3 separate regions of the Homo sapiens genome follow, and all the other regions are linked to region 2. The links are contacts of gene promoters, found by promoter capture Hi-C in blood cells and fetal thymus (Javierre and others, 2016). All regions are on one chromosome and are shown on one strand. The core of a region is centred on a gene start or on the middle of the fragment in contact, and the rest is flanking DNA. Distances in the headings are between cores, read along the strand shown. Region 1 has its middle 52 kb from the start of PDP1. Region 2 holds the start of CIBAR1-DT (CIBAR1 divergent transcript). Region 3 has its middle 78 kb from the start of PDP1.

Region 1 (2,700 bases), core at 175-2,674, 270 kb before region 2:
TCTGGGAAGTGAGGAGCCCCTCCACCCAGCAGCCGCCCCGTCCAGGAGGTGGGGCACAGCCCCCGCCCGGCCAGCCGCCCTGTCCAGGAGGGAGGTGGGGGGCAGCCCCCGCCCGGCCACTGCCCCATCTCGGAGGTGGGGGGCACCTCTGCCCAGCCACCCCATCTGGGAAGTGAGGAGCCCCTCTGCCTGGCCGCCACCCCGTCTGGGAGGTGTACCCAACAGCTCATTGAGAACGGGCCATGATGACGATGGCAGTTTTGTCGAATAGAAAAGGGGGAAATGTGGGGAAAAGAAAGAGAGATCAGATTGTTACTGTGTCTGTGTAGAAAGAAGTAGACATGGGAGACTCCATTTTGTTCTGTACTAAGAAAAATTCTTCTGCCTTGGGATGCTGTTAATCTATAACCTTACCCCCAACCCCCTGCTCTCTGAAACATGTGCTGTGTCCACTCAGGGTTAAATGGATTAAGGGCGGTGCAAGATGTGCTTTGTTAAACAGATGCTTGAAGGCAAAAAAAAAAAGCAAAAATGGAAAATTATCCAAATGCCCATTAATCAAGACTGGATAAATAAATGGTAGGATATTCACCCAATGGAATACTATATGGCAATGAAAATAAATGATCTGCTTTAACAAAGTTGACAAGCAATGGGGAAAGGCCTTTCTATTCAATAAATTGTGCTGGCATAACTGGCTAGCCAAACATAGAGGAATGAAACTGGACCCCTACCTTTCACCATATACAAAAATTAACCCGAGATAGATTAAAGACTTAAATGTAAGACATAAAACTAGAGATCTGTTCCAAGATGGCCGAATAGGAACAGCTCCAGTCTGCAGCTCCCAGTGTGATCAACACAGAAGACGGGTGATATCTGCATTTCCAACTGAGGTACCTGGTTCATCTCACTGGGACAAGTTGGACAGTAGGTGCAACCCACGGAGGGTGAGCTGAAGCAGGGCAGGGCTTCACCTCATCTGGGAAGCACAAGGGGTTAGGGGACTTTCCTTTCCTATCCAAGGGAAGCTGTGACAGACTGTACCTGGAAAAATGGGACACTCCCACCTAAATACTGCACTTTTCCCAAGGTCTTAACAACTGGCAGACAAGGAGATTCTCTCCCATGTCTGCCTGAGTGGGTCCCACACCCACAGAGCCTTGCTCACTGCTAGCACAGCAGTCTGAGATTGACCTGCAAGGCACGAGCTGGTGGGAGGAGGGGCGTCCACCATTGCTGAGGCTTGAGTATGTAAACAAAGCAGCCAGGAAGCTTGAACAGGGCGGAGCCCACCGCAGATCAGCAAGGCCTACTGCATCTAGACTCCATCTCAGTGGGCAGGGCTTAGCTGTACAAAAGGCAGCAGACAACTTCTACAGACTTAAACGTCCCTGTCTGACAGCTCTGAAGAGAGCAGTGGTTCTCCCAACATGGCATTTGAGTTCTGAGAATGGAGAGACTGCCTCCTTAAGTGGGTCTCTGACCCCCATGTAGCCTAACTGGGAGACACCTCCCAGTAGGGGCCGACAGACACCTCATATAGGCAGGTGCCCCTCTGGGACGAAGCTTCCAGAGGAAGGATCAGGCAGCAGTATTTGCTGTTCTGCAATATTTGCTGTTCTGCAGCCTCTGCTGGTGATACTCAGGCAAACAGGTTCTGGAGTGGACCTCCAGCAAACTCCAACAGACCTGCAGCTGAGGGACACGACTATTCAAAGGAAAACTAACAAACAGAGAGGAATAGCATCAACATCAACAAAAAGGACATCTACACCAAAACCCCACCTGTAGGTCACCAACATCAAAGACCAAAGGTAGACAAAAACAAAAAGATGGGAAGAAACCAGAGCAGAAAAGCCGAAAATTGTAAAAATCAGAGCACCTCCTCTCCTCCAAAGGATTGCAGCTCCTTGCCAGCAACAAAACAAAGCTGGATGGAGAATGACTTTGATGAGTTGACAGAAGTAGGCTTCAGAAGGTCAGTAGTAATAAACTTCTCCGAGCTAAAGGAGCATGTTTGAACCCATAGCAAGGAAGCTAAAAACCTTGAAAAAAGGTTAGATGAATGGCTAACTAGAATAAACAGTGTAGAGAAGACCTTAAATGACCTGATGGAGCTGAAAACCATGGCACGAGAACTTCGTGATGCATGCACAAGCTTCAATAGCTGATTCGGTCAAGTGGAAGAAAGGGTATCAGTGACTGAAGATCAAATTAATGAAATAAAGCAAAAAGACAAGGTTAGAGAAAAAAGAGTAAAAAGAAATGAACAAAGCCTCCAAGAAATATGGGACTATGTGAAAAGACCAAATCTACATTTGATTGGTGTACCTGAAAGTGATGGGGAAAATGGAACCAAGTTGGGAAACACTCTTTAGGATATTATCCAGGATAACTTCCCCAACCTAGAAAGGCAGGCCAACATTCAAATTCAGGAAATACAGAGAACACCACTAAGATATTCCTCAAGAAATTGTCAGATTCACCAAGGTTGAAATGAAGGAAAAAATGTTAAGGGCAGCCAGAGAGAAAGGTCGAGTTACCTACAAAGGGAAGCCCATCAGACTAACAGTGGATCTCTCTACAGAAACCCTACAAGCCAGAAGACAGTGGGGGCCAATATTCAACATTCTTAAAGAAAAGAATTTTCAACCCAGAATTTCATATCTAGCCAAACTGAGCTTCATAAGTGAAGGA
Region 2 (2,700 bases), core at 176-2,675:
ATTTATCCATCCACATTACCATTCCCAACATTTCCATCTCCAGTCATTCTTTAAAACGTACTTATGTGCCACACAAGACATTAAGTTATGCTTATTTTCTTCCCCCTGGGTACTATTCCCACTACCCCCAGTAAACAGCCACCCCTTGGCCAAAAGTTGGCAAATAAAGTGGGGAAATTCAAGACCTCAAGATGCCCTAAAGGTTAGCTTGAAAAGGGTAAAATAAAACACAGAACGCTTCTCTTTAATAGACTCACACAGTCTTATGAAAATGTACGTTTTATCAAGTTTGCATCCACCTCTGCAGTTAGGTAGATTACAAGTGAAAGTTTCCACGGTTCCTTCATCCACTACTTCATGGCTCATTCATAACAATGACACTGTGATCTCACTCCATACCTCTGCTTGTCGATAATCCTGAAGTTTGGCAAACTCATCTGCAAAGTTCATCAGGCCCAGCTTTAAATGCGGGGTCTCTGTAGCAGCATACGCGTTAATTTCATTCACCAGGAGGTCTGCTTTGTCTCTCAGCCTGGCAGTTTTCCGCACATAGGCAGCGAAGATTTGGCACAGTTCTCCAAAATGCTTCTCCACATTTGAGACAGCTGTTTGCAGTTGTTTCGTTTGAGCGTTCCTAGGGAAAAGGTGACACAAAAGGCAAAACATTCTCGTTAGAGATGAGAAGGCTTCACGTTAATTTAACATGCAAACATTCCCCGGGCATTCTGCAGCTTTGAAGGCGTAAACCCATCAACGACCCAGCGTCTCCCGGCGCGGACTGCTCTCCATGGGGTCCTGACCTCACTATCCGGACTGTGTAGGCACAGGAAAAGGCCCAGGCCGGGTGGGCCTGGCCTTAACTGGGGAGGTGGCTGCTCCGGCTGCTCCGCGCAGCGCGGCCTGGGCGCCCGGCTGCCTCCTAGGCTTCCGCACTGCCCGCGGCAGTGTGGGGACCCGAGACCCGGTGGCGTGGGTGGGTGGCAGCCGGCCGGGCCCCGGGCTCCTCTTCGCCGCCGGCGGTGGCTGCAGCCCAAGGAATTAGGCCCCAGGTCACAGCGGGGACCGTGCAGCCTCCCACTCAGGGTCGGAATTCGGCGCAGAGGCCCCATGGACAGAGGCTTCCACTTCCCTCACCCCAGCCCTCCAGTGTGGGCGGCCCTGGGCAGCTGGGCTCGGGCTGTTACCGGTTTTCCAGGGTGCGCCTCATCATGCTGCCTCGCGCACGGCCGGGGACCTTGCGGGGGCCCAAGGACGGGGATTCCAAGGCGCCTGGGCGCGCGCTGGGGCGCAAGCAGCCGCCGGGAGCCTGAAAGCCCGCCCCTCGCGCCGCCGCGGCAGGCCGGGCGTTTCTATGGAAACGGGGCGCGCGCCCCCGCGGTCAATGCCCGAGGCAGCCTGAGCGCGGCTGGGGCTCGGAAAGCGCCAAGCAGGCAGGGACCGAGAGGGGTGATGGCGCGCCCACCCCTGCAGAGCCGCCTGCGCGGTTGTCCCGCGCGTCCCTGCCGGCGAAGGCTGTGAGAAGCACCGCGGGGCTACGGCGCCTCCATCCTCTCTAACAGCCGCGCTTACCAGACAGCCAGCCTCCAGCGCTGCTAGGCTACTCCGAGCAGGGGAGAAAAGACGCCGGTCCGCCGGGGACCAGGAGGGAGACGTGAAACCAGAGGCCCGGGGGCCCCCTCTCCGCCTGTGCGACTTGTAGTCTCGTACCAGACGCGTCCGCTTCACTGCTGAATCTGAAAACGTGGGCTCTTGAGAGCTGCCCTTGGAAGGAGCTGTGCTTTCTGCCTCATCTTTAACTTTTCGTTTATTCAGCAAATATGTATCAAGTTCCGACTTCGTGGAAGAGATTGTGTTAGACACTGGGAGTAATAGAAACATAATTAAGAAGCAGGGGTCCCGGACCTGAAGGGCCTGAGCGTCGGGTAAGGAGGCAACGCTTACACCGAACCTGTGCTGAGATAAATAACGAACAGTTCTGGCTCTTAGAGTTGGCCTGGGGGAACAAAAATTCAAAAAGAATAAAACCCCAAACAAACAGGAGGCTCTCCTTTGTCCTTTGAACGCCTCTGTCCCTTTGACCCTCCTGGCCTTGCGTGTGCTGCTTTTCCCAGTAAATACTGCAAGGACTCTATTCAGACTTTGTTTATTTATATATGTATTTTAGATGGAGTCTCGCTCTGTTGCCCAGGCTGGAGTGTAGTGGCACAATCTCGGCTCACTGCAACCTCCGCCTCCTGGGTTCAAGCGATTCTCCTGCCTCAGGCTCTCAAATAGCTGGGATTACAGGCGTGCACCACTATGCTGGCCTGATTTTTTGTATTTTTAGTAGAGACGGGGTTTCGCCATGTTGGCCAGGCTGGTCTTGAACTCTTGGCCTCAAGTGATCCGCCCCCCTTCAGCCTCCCAAAGTGCTGGGATTCCAGGCGTGAGCCACCGGGCCCGGCCTCAATTCAGACTTTATCTGCTTCAAGAAACCTCTCTGGGATCCTCCGTCACTTCACTTTTTCAGGCAGCGTTAGGGCCTTGTCCTAACGCTTTGGGACGGGGTCCTAATACTGTCTGAAGGAGCGAAGTGTTGGAATGCTCAAACAGTACACTTCGTTGATTTTGTACTGCCTCCTGTACCCTAGACTTTGAACCCTTTGAGACAGATTAAATGTGATTTTGGTCTTGTATTCCTCGCTGCCGTGTGCTGCTGAT
Region 3 (2,700 bases), core at 169-2,668, 290 kb before region 2:
CTTTTATTCCTTTTGTCCAGGCACTTTAATTGCTCCTCATGGAGTGCTTGTCTTAGAAGACCCTGTTTCAGGCACTCAGAGAGCTACCAAGTGTGAAAAGCAGAGACCCCCCTTCTCAGGGAGCTTACCTGCTGTGCAACCACCTTTTAAGGATGTAAATCTAATCTTGCCCATCAGGTTTAGAACCCTCCAGTGGCTTTCCATTGCTCTTGGGATACAGATCAAAATCTATCAGGCACCTTCTCTAAGGCCCTGCCACCTCTCCTCTGAGTTGCATGCATGCCCCCACTGTTTGCATCTCTCCAACCTTTCATCAGCTGCTTGCATGGGCCAGATCAGGCTCTCAGTTTTATGTTCTGACAGCATAATCTTCTTTTCATTCAGAGTCCTTATTGTAATTCACAGATGCATGCTTGTGTGGTGATGGATTAGTGTTGATCCCCCCACTGGACCGTCAATTGCAAGAGTGTTGGGAGAGGGTTAGAGATAAGACAGAAATGTCAGCTGAAGTCAGATTGGAAAGAATTGCTGATGTGCCAGACTGAAGCTTGGAGGACTCAGGAATGAATGGTTTTTAGCAAGGAAGTAAGGTAATCAGAACCGTGCTTTAGGAACAGAGTTGAGCCTAACAGCAGTAAGTGAGGCAGCATGGAGAAAGAGCAGGGCCCCTTTAGGGGGCCATTGCTGTAGTCTGAATAAGAGGCATGAGAGGTTGCACAAGGGTGATGGGAAAGAGAAGGGGAAGAGAGATTCTGAAGATTAGGCCAAGTCAACAACTTGCTTAAATGTGGAAACTGTGGGATAAGCAGGGTCCAAAAAGATTCCAAGTTTTCTAATCAGGGTGTCTGAGAGCTTAAGTGACTTACTGATTCAAAGTAAGAGGAAGGAGGCCCTTTGAAGAGAGGATGGAATCAGTTCTGTAAGCATTCAGCTGGAGGTATGAAGGGACACAGTGGAGAGGCCTGCTGAATGCTGGATATATGGGAAGGGAGGGCAGAAGAAGGGTCCTGGCTGGTAAAGAAGATGTGGGTACCATGTGCATTGATATGATACTCATTAAGGGGATGAGGGGAAGGAAGAGAGGGCAAGACAAAAAGGAGGAAAAGAAGCTGGAAAGTAAGAAGGGCATACAGATTTATAATCCTTTGGGTATATAGCCAGTAATGGGATGGCTGGGTCAAATGGTATTTATTGCGGCACTATTCACAATAGCAAAGACTTGGAAGCAACCCAAATGTCCAACAATGATAGACTGGATTAAGAAAATGTGGCACATATACACCATGGAATACTATGCAGCCATAAAAAATGATGAGTTCATGTCGTTTGTAGGGACATGGATGAAGCTGGAAGCCATCATTCTCAGCAAACTATCGCAAGGACAAAAAACCAAACACCGCATGTTCTCACTCATAGGTGGGAATTGAACAATGAGAACACATAGATACAGGAAGGGGAACATCACACACCGGGGACTGTTGTGGAGTCGGGGGAGGGGGGAGGGATAGCATTAGGAGATATACCTAATGCTAAATGACGAGTTAATGGGTGCAGCACACCAACATGGCACATGTATACATATGTAACAAACCTGCACGTTGTGCACATGTACCCTAAAACTTAAAGTATAATAATAATAAAAAATAATAATAAAATAAAATAAAAAAAAAGAAGAGCACACAGAGAGAATAGAATTGGGGAAGCCAGGGAGGCAGGGTTTCAAGCAGAAATCCATGATTGTCCTGTGAAGAGCTCAGCCAAGAGCTGGAAGAGGATGAAGCCTGAGCAAAGCCGACCAAGGTCACCAGCTATGGGAAAACTGTGGCAGCAGATTTAGGGAGGACGGTTCGGAGGGTAAAAGCCAAATTGCAGGGATTTTATTAAGACTCGAGGTCATCAGAGATGCTACTGCCCTCTGCTGCTGGACTTGATGTAATTAAACAAGGTAAATCACAGTATTTACTGAGTCCTTGCCATGAACCAGATGCTTCATGCTATTTATTTTTCATCAGTCTTATGAAGAAAATACCTCATTTTAGTATTGATTCCTATATAATTTACAGTTAAAATGGAGCTCAGGGAAGTACTATAACTTGCCTGAGGACATACAGTGAGTAAAGTCATGAGACTGGAAGCTCCACAAGGGCAGGAAGCACAAGTTTTGTTCACCATCATCCATGCCTCACTCACAATGCCTGGCACACAGAATGGATTTTTTTAAATAAATGAAGAAATGAATGGAGTCCAGTGTCATAATCAGGTCTGTGACTTCAAAGCCCATAAGCTTTCCAGGCATATGATGCTGCTTCTCATCCACACTTATTCCAATAGAAGACATTGTCCTGGTGCCAATTTCTTCAGAAACAAGATTTAAGATGTTGACTTTGTGAGAAGTGTTGTTTCTAAATTAAAATATGTGATTATATCTTAGCTTTGCCAATTACCCTGTTGATAAATCAATCAAACAATCAAGTCAGTCAAGGCTAAATTCATCTTTAAGGCAGTTTTGCTTTCTAGATCATGTTTATGTCAAAACTCACAAGCAGCTAAGTATGCATAAAATTTAAGAAACATATTTTAGGAATCAATCAATAAAATATGTGATTATATCTTAGCTTTGCCAATTACCCTGTTGATAAATCAATCAAACAATCAAGTCAGTCAAGGCTAAATTCATCTTTAAGGCAGTTTTACTTTCTA

What was found. Contacts are between HindIII fragments. The CHiCAGO score rates a contact against its expected background, and 5 or more counts as called.
Region 1: a contact is called between a fragment that was not itself captured here and the fragment with the promoter of CIBAR1-DT in region 2, in 4 of 17 cell types (megakaryocytes, total CD8 T cells, naive B cells and 1 more). The highest score is 7.6, in megakaryocytes.
Region 3: a fragment that was not itself captured here is called in contact with the fragment with the promoter of CIBAR1-DT in region 2 in 1 of 17 cell types (endothelial precursors); the score reaches 5.5 in endothelial precursors.

What each region holds. Positions count from the first base shown.
Region 1 is chr8:93,968,072-93,970,771 of GRCh38, reverse strand. No RefSeq gene overlaps it. Among named protein-coding and RNA genes, the nearest start is that of PDP1, 52 kb to the right of the region's middle. RefSeq lists an enhancer at 104-605 and a silencer at 1,233-1,302. The HindIII fragment of the contact is 294 bases long and covers 1,278-1,571 here.
Region 2 is chr8:93,699,158-93,701,857 of GRCh38, reverse strand. It overlaps CIBAR1-DT (CIBAR1 divergent transcript), which reads left to right and starts at 1,425. Exons shown (of 11, transcript NR_033858.1): 1 at 1,425-1,922. CIBAR1 (CBY1 interacting BAR domain containing 1) reads right to left here and starts at 1,308. Exons shown (of 9, transcript NM_145269.5): 1 at 1,185-1,308; 2 at 400-634. The coding sequence starts at 1,210. RefSeq lists silencers at 960-1,079, 1,270-1,409, 1,440-1,489 and enhancers at 1,056-1,680, 1,710-1,789. The HindIII fragment of the contact is 5,458 bases long and covers 1-2,700 here.
Region 3 is chr8:93,994,068-93,996,767 of GRCh38, reverse strand. No RefSeq gene overlaps it. Among named protein-coding and RNA genes, the nearest start is that of PDP1, 78 kb to the right of the region's middle. The HindIII fragment of the contact is 1,737 bases long and covers 550-2,286 here.